3 separate regions of the Homo sapiens genome follow, and all the other regions are linked to region 2. Evidence: promoter capture Hi-C in 16 types of primary human blood cells and fetal thymus (Javierre and others, 2016). All regions are on one chromosome and are shown on one strand. Each heading gives the region's core, a stretch centred on a gene start or on the middle of the fragment in contact. The rest is flanking DNA. Distances are from core to core; before and after follow the strand shown.

Region 1 (4,908 bases), core at 2,213-4,712, 220 kb before region 2:
GAGCGTTTCTCAGCACACCAGGCAGGGAAGCTTTCTGGAAAGGCCTGGACACATGCCCAAGGCTCACAGTAGCTTTGTGTGTGCCAGTCCTGGGAAGAAACTTTCCGTTCTTGATAGATTTAGAAGCAGATACAAATGCGAAACTTTTAAGATTTCAAAAAAGAAAGCAACATCGCAAAATAATGATGAAAAGAAAAACAGGATTACTGGCCAATGGCTTTTCGGTCTTACCCAGCCTGGCTCCAGTCCTAAGATCTAACTTATATATTAACCAGAACAGAGTGGGGGGATGTAAAGAATCTTACAGCTGAAGGGAAATTCTGGTTTGAAGTCACAAATTTACAGGTCTGGTATGTCTGTTAGACTACAGAAGCCACTTGGTTCTGTACACAGACCAAGACAGGACGCTTGGAGACCTGGAGAAAGAAAACTCTATCTTTCATCCTGGCTGTCCCACCGGGGAACTAAGGAAGCCTGGATAGGTCAGTTAACTCCACTGACCCCCCTCTCTGGGGAAGAGATATAATAACACCTTCTTCATCTACCTGACACTGATCAGTTGTGATTTCAAATGATATAATGTCAATAAGGACATTTTGAGATACCTGGAGAGAAACATAATTATCAACAGTCTTACAACTACTTGCCAGAAGTCATAGAAGGAAGGGATTGAAAAGGTAAAATGGCTCAGCGAAAATCCATCAGCACTCACAGGAATTGACTCAAAGAATCTGCCACCTCTCACAGGAAGAATGACACAGAATACAAGCCATGCTATGACATGTGTGACTTCAGGCCTGCTGGAAGAAGATGGCTGCTGTGAACACACACACAAGACACACACACACATATGTGCCCACATACATATACCTTGAGGTATCCTCTCTAGGACAAATCAAAGACATCAAACTGTAGTATTAACTGCAAGAGATGATTCTTGAATAACTTGTAAAGGCAGAAGTAATTCCTGAAGCCAAACTGGATGATTACAATTGTGACATAACCTAAATTCAGTCTGGAGAAAAGCCAGTATGTGACTTCCTTTTCCAAAGTAATCTTTGGTGGCTCACAGAACAAAACTCCTCGGTCCTAAGGGCAAGTATGCCGGGTAGGTGGCCAAGGCCAGGGGCCCAAAACTGATAGCAGAGGAGACAACCAAAATTGAGTTTTCTACCTCAGGCATTCTTGGCAACATACAAAACTTTGTAGTGTGTGATTCTTTTCCAACCGACTGCAATCGTCTATAGGGGAAGGAAGACATGCTCAGATGTCACTGTTTGAAACATACTAAAGCAGCTTCTAGGACTTTTGCTTCTAAGAAATTCATTCACCAATTAAACTAATATTTGTTGAGTGCCCTTTATTTCCCAGAGTCACAAAAACAATTTATGCGATGAGCATCACAATACAGGAAGTCCAGGGTCCCAGGGAAGCACTGAACTTCAGAGGGAGCTGACCTGGTCAAGGCTTTAGGGAGGATCTCCCTGAGGAAATGATGTGAAAGCTGAGATCTTGAGGGTTAGGAGTCAGTGGGATGAGGATTCTGGGGCAGCAATGAGGCAGAGGTTCTGCGGTGAAAGAGCTAAACACTTGTAGAGGACTTAAAGATCTGTTAAACTAAAAAATATAAAGAGTTGGGGGAAAGGAGCATGATGAAATCTGCTATACTCATTGATTTTTTTTTTTTTTTTTTTTTGAGACAGAGCTGTCGCCCAGGCTGGAGTGCAGTGGCGCAATCTCGGCTCACTGCAATCTTCGCCTCCCAGGTTCAAGCGATTCTCCTGCCTCAGCCTCCCGAGTAGCTGGGATTACAGGCACGTGCCACCATGCCTGGCTAATTTTTTTTTTCTTTTTAGTAGAGACCAGGTTTCACCATGTTGGCCAGGCTGGTTTCAAACTCCTGACCTCAGGTGATCCACCTGCCTTGGCCTCCCAAAGTGCTAGGATTACAGGCATGAGCCACCGCAGCTGGCCACTCATTGATTTCTCAGCCAACCAGAAATCACACCTAATAACACCTGCTTAGAAGACATTAGACAGATGCACCTTGGCTGAGAGATAAAAGAAAATGGTTCAGAACTTCTAGCCACCCCACGATCTTCAGGCACGCAATGCAGAGAGGGCTGAGGCAAGCATTTAGGCAGCGATTATGCGCAAATCACAGACTTTTTAATGAATGCAGATTTTAGGTAAACGTATTAAATCATATTAACATTCCATAGGCAGTAAAATACTCTATAATTGGTCAAATGTTTAATACAAATTTTTTCAGGTATGAAGTCACCTCTCCCATGATGTGTAACTTCTGAGCCAAGAAATAGGATTACCGTGACAAAAAGAATAACACTATCCATCTAGAGTTCTTTTCTCTCCCCAGCAATCTATTTGAAATAATAATTTTTTGTACTTAATCATCAGCAGAAAATAAGACATGGAACCATTTTTCAAAAGCAGCAAAATGTTTTTCTATTTTAATACATTCTCTGAGAACTGGATCTTGTCTTCGCTGCAGATAATGAAAAGGTAAGAAGATTTACGCAGACGGTGGGCCTTTCAAGCAATGAAGTAACTTCTGCCAAGCTCTGAGGGCAGGATCTAATACACTTTGTCCTTCAAGAACTGAAGCCTAAGTCAACCTTGACCCTGACTCTGGGCCGGACCCTCCACCTTGTTCTCCTAATCATAGAACAGTTTTGCTCTGTTTCAGGGAAGGTTGCCAGATAGAAGCTGCCTCTGAGACCTCCAGCTAGATGATTTTCCTGATGAGAAGGAACAAAGAAAGATACAAAGCTTTCCTCTTTGTTTTTTTCCTGGAAAGGATGAAAATATTATTATCTGGACTTGTCAAGGTTGTCCTGCGTTGCTTTTTTACACTTTACATTGTCACATTTCAGTGCTGTTGGTAAACAGGGATTCAAATACTAGGAGGAGACGTGAAAGAGAGATTGAGAAAAGACCAGGGAAATAATGCCAACAAAGCCAGAGTCAGATTTAAGCACTAAGAAGGCAAGGGCAACGCAGGGACTATGGGGAAGGGAGAGAAGAGAAAAAAAAAAACCTCCACGGCAAGAAGGAGGAAGAAAAAGATTATGAAAGGAAGACATACAGAAAGACAGTAAATGTGAGTGGGAGAGGGCCCGGAGTAGGATGGATAAGCCTGAAGCCAATTACCCAAAGTCAAGGTTATTTACACACCTGTCTTTCATTCCCAAGCTAAGTACTTAAGAGAAATATTTTCATTTTTATCAGAGGAAAAATAGTAAAGGTCATGCAGCACAGAGGTTAAGGCCTCGGTTAAATCCCAGCTCTTTCATTTATTCACTGTGTAGCCTTGGACATGTTCCTTAACCTACGCCCCAGGTTCCTCCTCTGTAAAATAAGAATAATAAAACATAATCATTATGAGGATTTAACAAGTATGTACAGTACTTAACACAGGGACCATTCCTACTAAGTAGTCAATAAATTCTAGCTATTATTAGAAAAGGACATCGCCAGTCACCAAAATTATCTTTCAAGGACCTCAATAACTCATTCCCCACAGTCCAAGAAGGGAGTTTTCATGTTATAAATAGAACTCTATTGAAAAAAATGGCTAAGGCCTTCTATAGTTTTCACCACTAGAACTGAGTTTCCGTTGGTAGTGACAGATGCTACGAGGCACAAGGAACAGGAAGCAGGTTCTCCTTTGATGGGCCTAATTTGGTCTTGTTTCCTCACATTCTTCAACCCATCTCCTTCCCCAGGAAAAAGGTCTAGCTTCCACATTTCTAACAGCTGTGTGCGAACCTTGCTCAGGGTGTTCATTCAATAATAAAGCAACAGCCAGGCAAAACAGCATAGAGCAATGGAAATAATGACAAAAGATCTCAGAATAATAACAATCTAAAACATTAGTCACAACAATGATATTGTAATCTAGTTCTTCATGTACTTCCGCAGTCTTATTATGGTGATATAGGCAAATGCGGAGAAAAATCTTGAGTATCCGAGATCCCAATGCTCTTCTATAAATGGCATGCCTGGGCTTCCCACCCAGGTCTTGGAGTCAGTTGGACGGGAGTTCAAATATCAGACCTGTCACTTAACCACCTGCCTGATCTTAGTCAAAACACATAACTTCTCTGAAGCTTCACTTTATATCCTATAAAGTGAGGACAATATCTCAGCATATTTGTGATGGTTGAAGAAGACACAAATATAAAGTACTTAGCAGAATGCCTTGTAAGCATACCACAAATTGTAGCCAATGGTGGTGGCAAGGGCAGTGTCATCATTTTCTTTGTTTACAATGCTGTGCAGGGAATCAAACAATACAGTCTAATTGTGATGTCTGTTTTCCTTTCTAAAAGAGACATTCTTTAATGTAGAAAACCCTAGGAGATACTCGTATGATTGATCTGTCTTCTTTTTGAGCCATTGATTATCAATGTTGTTTTATTCTTCCTCAACTATTAGAACATCAGTTTCTGCTCAGGGCTTTCTACCCATGTCCCTAAAATGCAGACTTGACTTAGAATGCTAATGACTTGTAAAACTATGGTTTTTATTCTTCTTTGTCCTGTAGGGATATTTTAAAGACAATACCAGACTCTTCGATATGGCATATCACTTCTTCATTTCTTTTGTTTCACTTTAAAAAAAATTCCTTTCACATTATAACTTTTAATTCTTCTAAATTGGAGTTTTAAATCTTGTTTTTGCTGTTCTTCACCCCTCCTCCTTTTCCCCATTTTTGTTATAATCACTCCAATTAATTTCAATTGCCTTCTTAGGGCATCTGAATTTGCAGGAATGAATATTGATTGCAAACTCTCTGGGAAGATTTTTTAACTTTCCACTGTGAAGTTTCTGAGGCAGTAATGTAACACAGCCAACTTCCTTTAACTCCTTTCCTTTCTCTTTAAA
Region 2 (4,553 bases), core at 2,052-4,551:
GAGGATTTGTGGACAAAAAAGGAAAGCAACATAAGGAAAATGGAAGTGAGGTACAGAAACAGCTGGATTTGTTACAGCTTGGCATTTCCCTGATTTGAACACAGTTTGAACAGTTGGCTGCCTTTGGCCAAAACTTGGTGATTGGTACAAGAGTAGGTTACAGTCTATTTACATTCCAGTTAGGTTACAATTCGCTGAGTACGAAGAAACCTTTAGGCTGAACTTAAAATATGTAAGGAGGCAGCTTTAGGCTAAACTTAATTTAACAATTCCCCACCTTTTGGTCAACCTCTCAATTTTGACACTGACCAAAACTTTAGGCATTGAGGTCACTCTGTTACCATCATAAATGTACTTATTTGGTCTCAGATCCCACGGGGAAAGAGCAGAACAGTTGGTTTTTAAGGTGGGAACATGGATTTCAGGTTACTTTTTTGTAAGAGTTAGAGAGCCAAGGGGACTTCCTTGTGCCGGAATCTCCTGTTTTCATGAGAAAAAAAAAAGAAAAGAAAAGAAAAAAAACTTGGTCTGCTTTGGGATCTATCTGTTTCCTTAAAATTTTAGTTTATGTCACATTTAGCATGAGTGACTCCATTTTGGTTTGGTCTGGTCGGCTGGGGCCTAGTGTACAAGCTTAGCCCAAAACAATGGCCTCCCATCACTGTTTAACATATGGTTTGGAAATGTCAATTGGTCCTTTCCCACAGAGAGTTGGAAGCCTTCTTTAGAGCATCTAAACAGTCTCTGGAAGTAAAGATGCTGCCTTTACCCTATACTTTTCCTCAGCTTAAGTTTTAGGAGTCATTTTTAATTCTAAACATTTGCTGCTGTTTCCCCTAGGATAATGAGGAAAATCAACATGGAGGAATTCTAAGAGAAAGTCTGTGGTGTTAGCAAATTAAGGGTGGCCCTACAGAAAGCTCTCTGCTGTTAAGACTGTGCTGCCACCTTGTGGCCATCTTGTTTATAACCCCCCGAGCTCGAAGATCCACCCTCTGCTTTTTCGTCTCCTTTTGGTCTCAACTCCAGTGCTTTTCTTATCTCATCTTTCCCATCTAACTCCTTAGTGAGCTCCATGAAATCTACTTAATCTTCTGATCTTTACTTGAAGCTTGCTTTCTAAATTCAGTTCCTTTTATCACGTAGTTTGTTACTGCTACATGAATTTGAGCATTGTTGTTCAGTGTCAACCAAACTGCTACTAAAGTGATGAATTATATAATTACTTGGGTACAGTAGGTTCAAATAAAACTTTAACATTTTAGCAATAACTTATAAATATTTTACTTCCTGCCACCCAAAGAGAAAGTTGCCTTATAAGCAGTAACTAGCAACACACAAGCCATCTTGGATATACCCCAAACTGGGTTGTCAGAACATAGATTAATAATTTTTGGAGTGCCAAACTGAGTAAATGTCTCTTAAAAATTTAGATCATTGCAGGATAGTTTAGTCTTTGTAAATCTTCTTCATTATAATCTCATAATATCTCTACATAAATAATATACATCATAACTCATCTGAATGAAGATGAAACATGGCAGATTAACAAAGGAAGACAGAAAAGAGAAGAAAGGAGTCTGTTGGGGAAGCTAGACATTTCTTCCAAGCATCTCCTTTCCAATACATGTCAATTTCACTGTGAACAGGAACCATGGTAAAGGCCTTTCATTTCCTCCTGATGAAGTTTAGTCTTAAAAGTCATTCTGTGCAACCTAAATGGAATGTTGCCAACTTAACATTCCTTGGAGTCTTCCTACATCTAACAGACAACTACCTTTAAAGAATAATGACTAATTGGGGTTGCCTATCCCTAAAATCACCCTAAAATGCAATTGATAAATGTGCTAGTGGACAAAGGCTCATTTTTCCTGTTTCTTTAGGCTTAACCTTCCATAGGTATATCATTTGCTGAGCATCTAATCCACCATGGAAGGTGCACAGTGCACATGGGATGCTGGTGCAGATTTGGGGACTATATTTTTTGTCTTTTCCTCCCCTCACTGGAACCTGTCAGACAGCTAATACTTTCTTACAGAACTGAGCAGGCCCTCAGAACTTGATTCTTCAGCTAGCGGGAGAAAAACCCCAACATGTTCTCTTCAACAGTCAGCTATTATCCTTTCACCCAGCTTTTGATAAGTAATATTTTTAAAGTAATGTTTGCAATAGATTGTCATTTATTAGGATTAAATAAAAGATGAGCTATGAGGATTGACTTTCAGTTCCATATTTACAAGTTCATTCAGTTAGAAGATGCAAGCAATGAGAAAAAAGGGATGACCCATGGCAAACTGTGGGGAAGGGACAGGATGCAGCAGTGACCATGTGCCAGAGCAAGCACCAAGGAAGATGAAACTGAAAATAACCAGCTGAGGAGTTCATGAATACACCTGAGGCCCTTAGGAGACAAAAACATCTCGTCTAGTAGGAGCACTCTGGATGAGAAAGGATGTGTGCTGTGGTGCAGACTGGAAGTCTGACAGTGGAAACAGGCGTGGCGAAGCTTCGAGAAGACAGAAGGTGCCCTCTGGGTGCTCAGTATCCCTGAGTTATTTTTAGAGTATGTCTGCTTACAGCCAATAGTTATTACTGGAATGTACACAATAGCAATCCCCACTCACTCCTTCAGGTGGCCTGGGAAAGGGGAATGAGGGAATAATCCAGAGTGATTGACAGTGAATTGTGACTATCAATGTGCCTTGTGTCTAGGAGATGATGTGGGGGTCAAGGGAGACTAAGGAAAAGAATGGAGAAGGACAAGTGGCTCTTCCGTTAGCCACAGAGAAGGGGCTACAACCGATCCTGGAACAAATCTTGTCTTAAACTGGAGGGAACCACATACATACCAATAGCAAGAGTCTTCCAGGCAATTTCTAAGAGGAGGGAAACCGCTAACACATAGCCTAGGTTTAGACAGAATCAAAAACACCCCCTTCAGGGACTATGGGCCTCTTGGAGGAAGTCAACTCTCTGCTCCCTCTCACAGAGGGCAAGCCTCCCAAGGAGAAGCCCTGGCACCCACGCAGGCAACAGAACCGCCAGGCCTGGCACCTACTCTAGACCAGGAGAAAGGTGCTGAGGAGCAGGCCCTCAGAACTTGATTCTTCAGCTAGCAGGAGAAAAACTGCAACATGTTCTCTTCAACAGTCAGCTATTATCCTTTTACCCAGACTGGGATATGCAGTCCTGTATATTTTCATCTTTGGAACAGGTGGCTTGATATGCAAATAAAGTAATAAGTGTCAGAGCTGTATCCTAGCAGTAGCTACTTTGCAAACGTTACCATGGCACCCAATCAACAGTGTTCTTAGAGGTAGCCACACCTCAGCAAGGGCTTTCTAACTTGGAACAGCAAAGTTCAAATGAACGAATAGACACAAACTGTGAAAGAGTCCTGAACCCATTACAAGGTGAATCTTTACAGCACAATTGCCTTCTGAAGCTACTTGAAACAGGGCATGGGACTTAAAGGAGAAAAAAAAGGAAATGGACCATCTCTTCTAACACCTGGAATGTGATCCAAGCCTGGAGACAAATTGATGGTAATTATAACTGCTAACATTTGTTTTTAGCTGCTAACAGATTGTGCACAGATTGTGAAGGGCAAACTCCATTCTCCAATTACTCCAGTGCAAACTGTGCTTTAACAGTACTCACTAAATCCTAGTTGAGTGAAATGAGAGCAGATTGTCCTTATGGTGTGGTTCATTTATGTTAAACTATGGAAAGCTGTCCTCCCACGGTCCCAGTCCAGGGGCCACTCACAGCCAGATGCAGAGAGCCCTCCAGCACGCTGGGCTCTACACATCTCTGTTCTTACTGCCAGCAAATCTGCTCTACAGAGTATAACATGTATTTCCCAAGCACAGACAAAGCAAAAGGAAAAGGGCTAGGCAGGAAGTAGGGACACCAGCTGCTGGGGAAACAAGTCTTAAGCAACCTGGCTTGTGAGCCAATCAAGGTTGCTAAGGTAGGTCCTGGGCCTAAACAGGGTACATTTCCACCTGGTTGGGGAGAATAAAATGACAGATACCAAAAGTTAACAAGATAATCTGTGGTCGATAACAAATTGATACAATAAACCATGAATTCTCTAAGAGTTCAAAGAGGGCAACAGTTCTTTCCTGCTTCCTCTTCAGATGAGGGTGATCAAAGAACAAGCCCAGAAAGACTCTGAAAAAGTGAAAACTTCACCAATAGGAAACTATAGTTGGTTGACACTGAAAAGTTGTCAGCAAGAATGAGACTACAGAGCTCCCTCCACTATGTGTTAAAGCCACAGTCCTCTCCATCTCCTTAAAGACAGTAATGATGTATCATTTCTGGCTAAAACAGCCACAGAAGATGGGGGTGCAAAGGAAGGCGTGCTTAGAAAAGCAATAGGGAGTTTCCATTTTGCTACCTTTATCTAAAAACACACAAAGACTTTTGTTTCCCAAAAGGGTAATTATGGGACCATTATATATAGTTAACTCCACATACACATCACCTTAAGAAATAGTAATAAAGACAGAAAAGTGCCTTTTGGTTCTGTTTCCATAACATTTAGC
Region 3 (4,984 bases), core at 976-3,475, 240 kb before region 2:
CTTGGTGACTAACTCTCAAATAATAGAGGAGGGAAAGAGAAAAACAGTAACTTCTGAGGAAGAACCTGGCAAACTCTTCCTTAACCAAGTAATAAAGATCAACATCATTCGTGTCACCATCAACATGACACCAGATGTCACGCTGAAACCATTCATTCACTCCTTGATGTGATGTGATGAGAAGGGCACTTTACTCTGTGATATTCTTTCTAAAAATCCAGAAGCTCAGTCTAATCACTAGAAAACAGCAGACAACCTCAAACTGTGGAACATTCTACAGAATACCTGGATAGACCCCTTAAGACAACCAAGGTCATAAAAAACAGTCAAGAAAACACTGTCGTAGACCTGAAGAGACAGGGGTGACAGACAACAAAATGCAGTTGGTATGCCGGATTGGGTCCTGGAACAGATAAGAAGATACTAGTGGAAAACTGGTGAAATCCAAACAAAGTCTAGATTTTAGTTAATAGTATTATGCCAGTGTCAGTTTCTTAGTATTGACAAATGTGCTATGGTTTTAGAAGATGTTAACAATGAGGGAAACTGCACTTCTAGCTTTGCAGCTTTTCTGTAAATCTAAACTTATTCCAGAATAAAAAGTTGGAAATGAAGGTGGAGGCACTTCTACCTACAACTGCAGGGATACACTATATTCATTTCACTAAATCTCCTTTAAAATCATCTCTCTTCTTCAGTAAGCCACCAAGGCACTAAACATCCTAAAGGAAAAGTAAAAAGCGGTCCCCATGGATCCCTTATCCTAAATCTCATCAAGCCAATTCTGGAAATTTTGGCAGAACACAAAGCCTCAAACAGGGTAAAGCCAGGCTGCTTGACATGAGGCTGGCTGCTTCCTCAGCCAGAACTGCTTTGTGAGGTTCATACCAAGGAGGGTTTTGTCCTTCAGGAACTCACTGTCAGCTGCAGTGTGTCCTTCCCATTCTGTGTACAAGGTCTCATCCTGTACTAAAATAATCTATTTTTTTGGTAACAGCTATTTTTAGCTTGTCTTTGAACAACCAAAAAAGTTTGTAACACTGTGAATGTTTTATAGGCTTCATGTTGCGGAAGAGTCCTATCATTCAAAAACATTTCTTACTTACGTTGAGCTTTCCAAAGAAAGAGAAAACCCTCTTAAAGCAGAATATTTAGAGTTTGTCAGTCTCTAATCTCCTCCCTCTGGTCTTCCACACTTTATGCTAACAGTCAGAAGTTTAAAATGAAGCTAAAGTTGATAATACCTATCTTTCAGTCTTCAGGAGGGAGGCATGATGCTCCTTTAAATATTGAAAAACTATAAAGATTTGGTTAGCCTTGGGATTAGTAAGGAGAGCTGGGCAATGGCTAGATTAGAACAAATGAAAAGATCTCTGAGTACAAGGACCAGGGCCCTGTGGAGAAGACACTCTTTCTCCTTGGTCACCATGTATCAGAAGCTGACTACAGTAGGAAGCTCAGGAGGCCCTCAGGCCAAGGTGGAGCAGCTTCTAAGTGCAGGAGGGGGCGGAAGAGACTGCAAGAGGGAGGAAGTCGACCTGCTGTAGACTCCCCCTCACCTTCAGAAAACAACTTTGCCAGAAAACAGGATTTGCCACCCAGTGCTTACTTCCTACTAGTTGAATGAGGGTAATCATCTCTCTCCTATAGACCTCCCAGGGCTGCTGAGAACAAATGGGGTAGAGAATGGGAGACCCTTTCTGAAAGCCTGGGTGCCCTGTTGACTGAAGGTGCCAGTGCCATGTGGGAGCCCAGACGCACACGGCCCTTCTCCTCTGTGAGCTGTCAGGGAAGACGAGGGCCAGACATACCATGTCCTTCTGGAGCTGCAGCCGCCTCTGGGTACGCTTCTGGTTTTCTTTCACACTGCTGTCCAGGTTTGCAAATTTTGAGGTTCCTTCCTGAGAAACAGAAATGCACACAGAGGGAATTGATACAGGATGCCACAATGGTAAGAAGTAAAGAGGCATCTAGTTTCTCGCACACAACCCTGCATAACTCTCGCTCGGAACACCATGCAAAATGAAGAGGCCTCCAGCAGGCTCTCACGATGTATATTATGCAAATACTTGGCTGGCTTGTTGCAAGTTGCCTATTTATAACGAGGCTGGTGGACTTGGATTTTCTTGTTCTTCCCCCAACTTTGTTTTTTTTTTTTTTGAGACGAAGTCTCACTCTGCTGGGAAGGCTGGAGTGCAGTGGCGCAATCTCAGCTCACTGCAACCTCTGCCTCCCAGGTTCAAGTGATTCTCCTGCCTCAGCCTCCCGAGTAGCTGGGATTAGAGGAATGCGCCACCACCTGGCTAATTTTTATATTTTATTTTATTTTTTGTTTTTAGTAGAGATGGGGTTTCGCCATGTTGGCCAGGCTGGTCTTGAACTCCTGATCTCAGATCATCCACCTGCCTCAGCTTCCCCAAGTGCTGGGATTACAGGCATGAGCCAGCCACCACACCTGGCCTTCCCCTTACTTTGTAAGAAGATCACCTGATTTGGTTATGAAAGCAATCATCAATACAAGCCAGGCAATTCTCATAAATGAAGACATTTTTACAGATCCCAAATTAAACTCAAAGTAATCAGATATCCTGAAAACAAAGATCGACTTCCTCAGTACATTTTGTGATTTCTCGATCTTGGCCTGAAATGGATGTGCCAGCATTCTGTGAAAGAAAGGGACTACTTCTGTAGCATTTCTTAGCTAAATGAAACTTTTGCACCGGAAGTTTTCTGAGGAAGTCCAATATTGTACTACATGACCAATCCATAAAAGTCGAACTTTCACACATCCCCAGCCCCCAGTCAGTTCTTCTAAATTGCCTCTCAGGTTTGGAACTCTTACAAATCAATCCTTCCTCCTGGTGCCTGAGGACACATGGCTACCCTTTCTCTCCTCCTGTCTATTGTAACAACAAACTCTTCTATATAATGAGTAATCATGAGTTTGCTGACTGAACATTAAGTGCTTTTGCGGTTTTGGGGTCTTGTTAAGTTCTCATTTTCCAGGAACTGCATGAATGGGGGGGTAAATTGCACAATTCAGTAGTATATAACTTCTACACTAGTTTTTCCTTAGTCACTTTTCCTGAGATTTATGTATTACCATAGCACGTGACCTTCCACTACTGTACAACCACAAAAGGGTTTTTTTCAGTGGCTTGGCCTTGCTGATAGTGATAGAGCATCAACATGTTCCATCTCTCAGCCTTAACTCAGGTCCCAGGTACACTACTGGGACAGAACCCACAGTGACTCATTACCTATTTAAGTTCTTCCCATCACAAATGATAATAAAGAGAGCCACTATTTAATGATCTCCCATTCATAGTTTTTCACAGGGATGAATGAAAATAGCCTATACTGGACATGGCGGCATGCGCCTGTAATCCTAGCTACTCAGAAGGCTGAGGCAGGAGGGTCGCTTGAGCCCAGGAGTTCAAGTCCAACTTGAGCAACATAGTGAGACCCCACCTCTAAAAAAAAGAAAGCAGCCTAATATGCGCCTTTCCTGTGCTAGATAGTTGTGAGTCCTCCGAAATTCTTGAGAATTTGCTTAGAGTGAGAAATCAATTATGTCTGACTTGAATAAGAGTGCCCACCTCTTTCCGGTGTGTAGGTCCTTCTGGTCTCCCTCCAGTATGTCAGTTATGGGCAGAGGAATAATGTATCATAAGTTATTGTAGACATGGCTAAAATTCCTAAAGAGAATTTCTGAAAAGTTCAAAGGCTCCTAAGAATCACAGAATAACAGAGGTGAAAGGGATCTCAAAAGAGCACTTAAGACAACCTCCTCATTAGATAGGAGAGAGAAACGCCTGAGATGGGGAGCTACAAGACTTGTTGATTCCATGACTTTATGATTTCATGAGAATGAGATTCCATCCCTGCTAGAGATCTAAAAAGACCGACGAGTCCCTATTATTCCAAATGAGGTGTCAACTGAAAATCCACTTACCTGCCACATCCAGCAGTTTCAGTTTTTCCTTCCTCAGCCCCAAATCTCCTACTCTGCAATGTCGCACAACACCAATCCCTTGAACCTTCTTGAAAGTTTTCATAGGTTTTTGTGACTGTATCACTCATTCTCTCCCCCTGCCTCCTCTGCTGTTCTCATATTCTCTTAGTGATTCTTCTTTTTGTCAAAGTTATCCTCTTGTTTTCTGCTGTACTCATGTCTTTGGAAATACTATCCAATCTCATGATTTTAATCATCACCTATGTTTGGATAAATGCCAAATCTCCCTCTTCCTCCATCAATCTCCTTCTCCCTCTCTCTCTCCTTTTATCTCCCCCTCTGCCCTTCTCTTCCCTCTCCGTCTCTTAGTGCAAATGGCTTGCTTAAGTCTCACCTTTTCTTTATAACCATCTTTAGCAGAGTTCAGCTACCCTCATCCATGCTGTTCTTGGGCTTCAGAGGGCCCTCTTCTACTAGGTCTAGATGGAACTTGTCTACTGGACTCTGGATCCATCTCCATAAATGTTGGTTAACTTAAGCTCAGTAGCTACCAGCAATTATAGCTCAGAACTGTCACAGTTGTAACAGACTCTTGCTCTAACTTTGAGTTTAGCATGTTTTGGAGTGTCACTGAACATACGTCTCCATCAGGGTTGAATTTCTGGGGCTTTCTAGCAGTCCTTTATATAAAGTCAACCGAAAAAATTCTTACCAAGAATCATGAGAACCAAGATTTGCTGGCATTCTGCTTTCTTCCCTGATGTCTTGAAATTTCCAGACTATAATTCACCTGCTTAGAATTACCCAGGTTTCAGAAATCACAAGGACATAGCAGGTTTAAGATAGTCTTTGAGAGGAAATGAAACATTTTTAAAAACAATTAAAAGGAAAACCACAGATTTTTGCTAATAATCATGTTGCCTGGGCCATATTATATAAGTGGCACGTTACATCTTCCCAGAAGAAGAGAAGTTAGGTCATTTAAAACTAAGAGTCCAAGAATTTGAGACCAGCCTGAGAAAAATAATG

The links. Contacts are between HindIII fragments. The CHiCAGO score rates a contact against its expected background, and 5 or more counts as called.
Region 1: a fragment that was not itself captured here is called in contact with the fragment with the promoter of APOBEC4 in region 2 in 2 of 17 cell types (naive CD4 T cells and non-activated CD4 T cells); the score reaches 6.6 in naive CD4 T cells.
Region 3: a fragment that was not itself captured here is called in contact with the fragment with the promoter of APOBEC4 in region 2 in 13 of 17 cell types (naive CD4 T cells, naive B cells, total CD4 T cells and 10 more); the score reaches 10.9 in naive CD4 T cells.

What each region holds. Positions count from the first base shown.
Region 1 is chr1:183,872,660-183,877,567 of GRCh38, reverse strand. All of the region lies in intron 4 of RGL1 (ral guanine nucleotide dissociation stimulator like 1), which reads right to left. Among named protein-coding and RNA genes, the nearest start is that of RGL1, 70 kb to the right of the region's middle. The HindIII fragment of the contact is 1,340 bases long and covers 2,793-4,132 here.
Region 2 is chr1:183,652,064-183,656,616 of GRCh38, reverse strand. APOBEC4 (apolipoprotein B mRNA editing enzyme catalytic polypeptide like 4) reads left to right here and starts at 3,301. Exons shown (of 2, transcript NM_203454.3): 1 at 3,301-3,545. It also overlaps a transcript of RGL1 not described here. The HindIII fragment of the contact is 5,397 bases long and covers 2,509-4,553 here.
Region 3 is chr1:183,894,725-183,899,708 of GRCh38, reverse strand. RGL1 (ral guanine nucleotide dissociation stimulator like 1) reads right to left here. Exons shown (of 18, transcript NM_001297671.3): 10 at 1,812-1,901. Among named protein-coding and RNA genes, the nearest start is that of RGL1, 92 kb to the right of the region's middle. RefSeq lists an enhancer at 1,428-1,587. The HindIII fragment of the contact is 9,566 bases long and covers 1-4,984 here.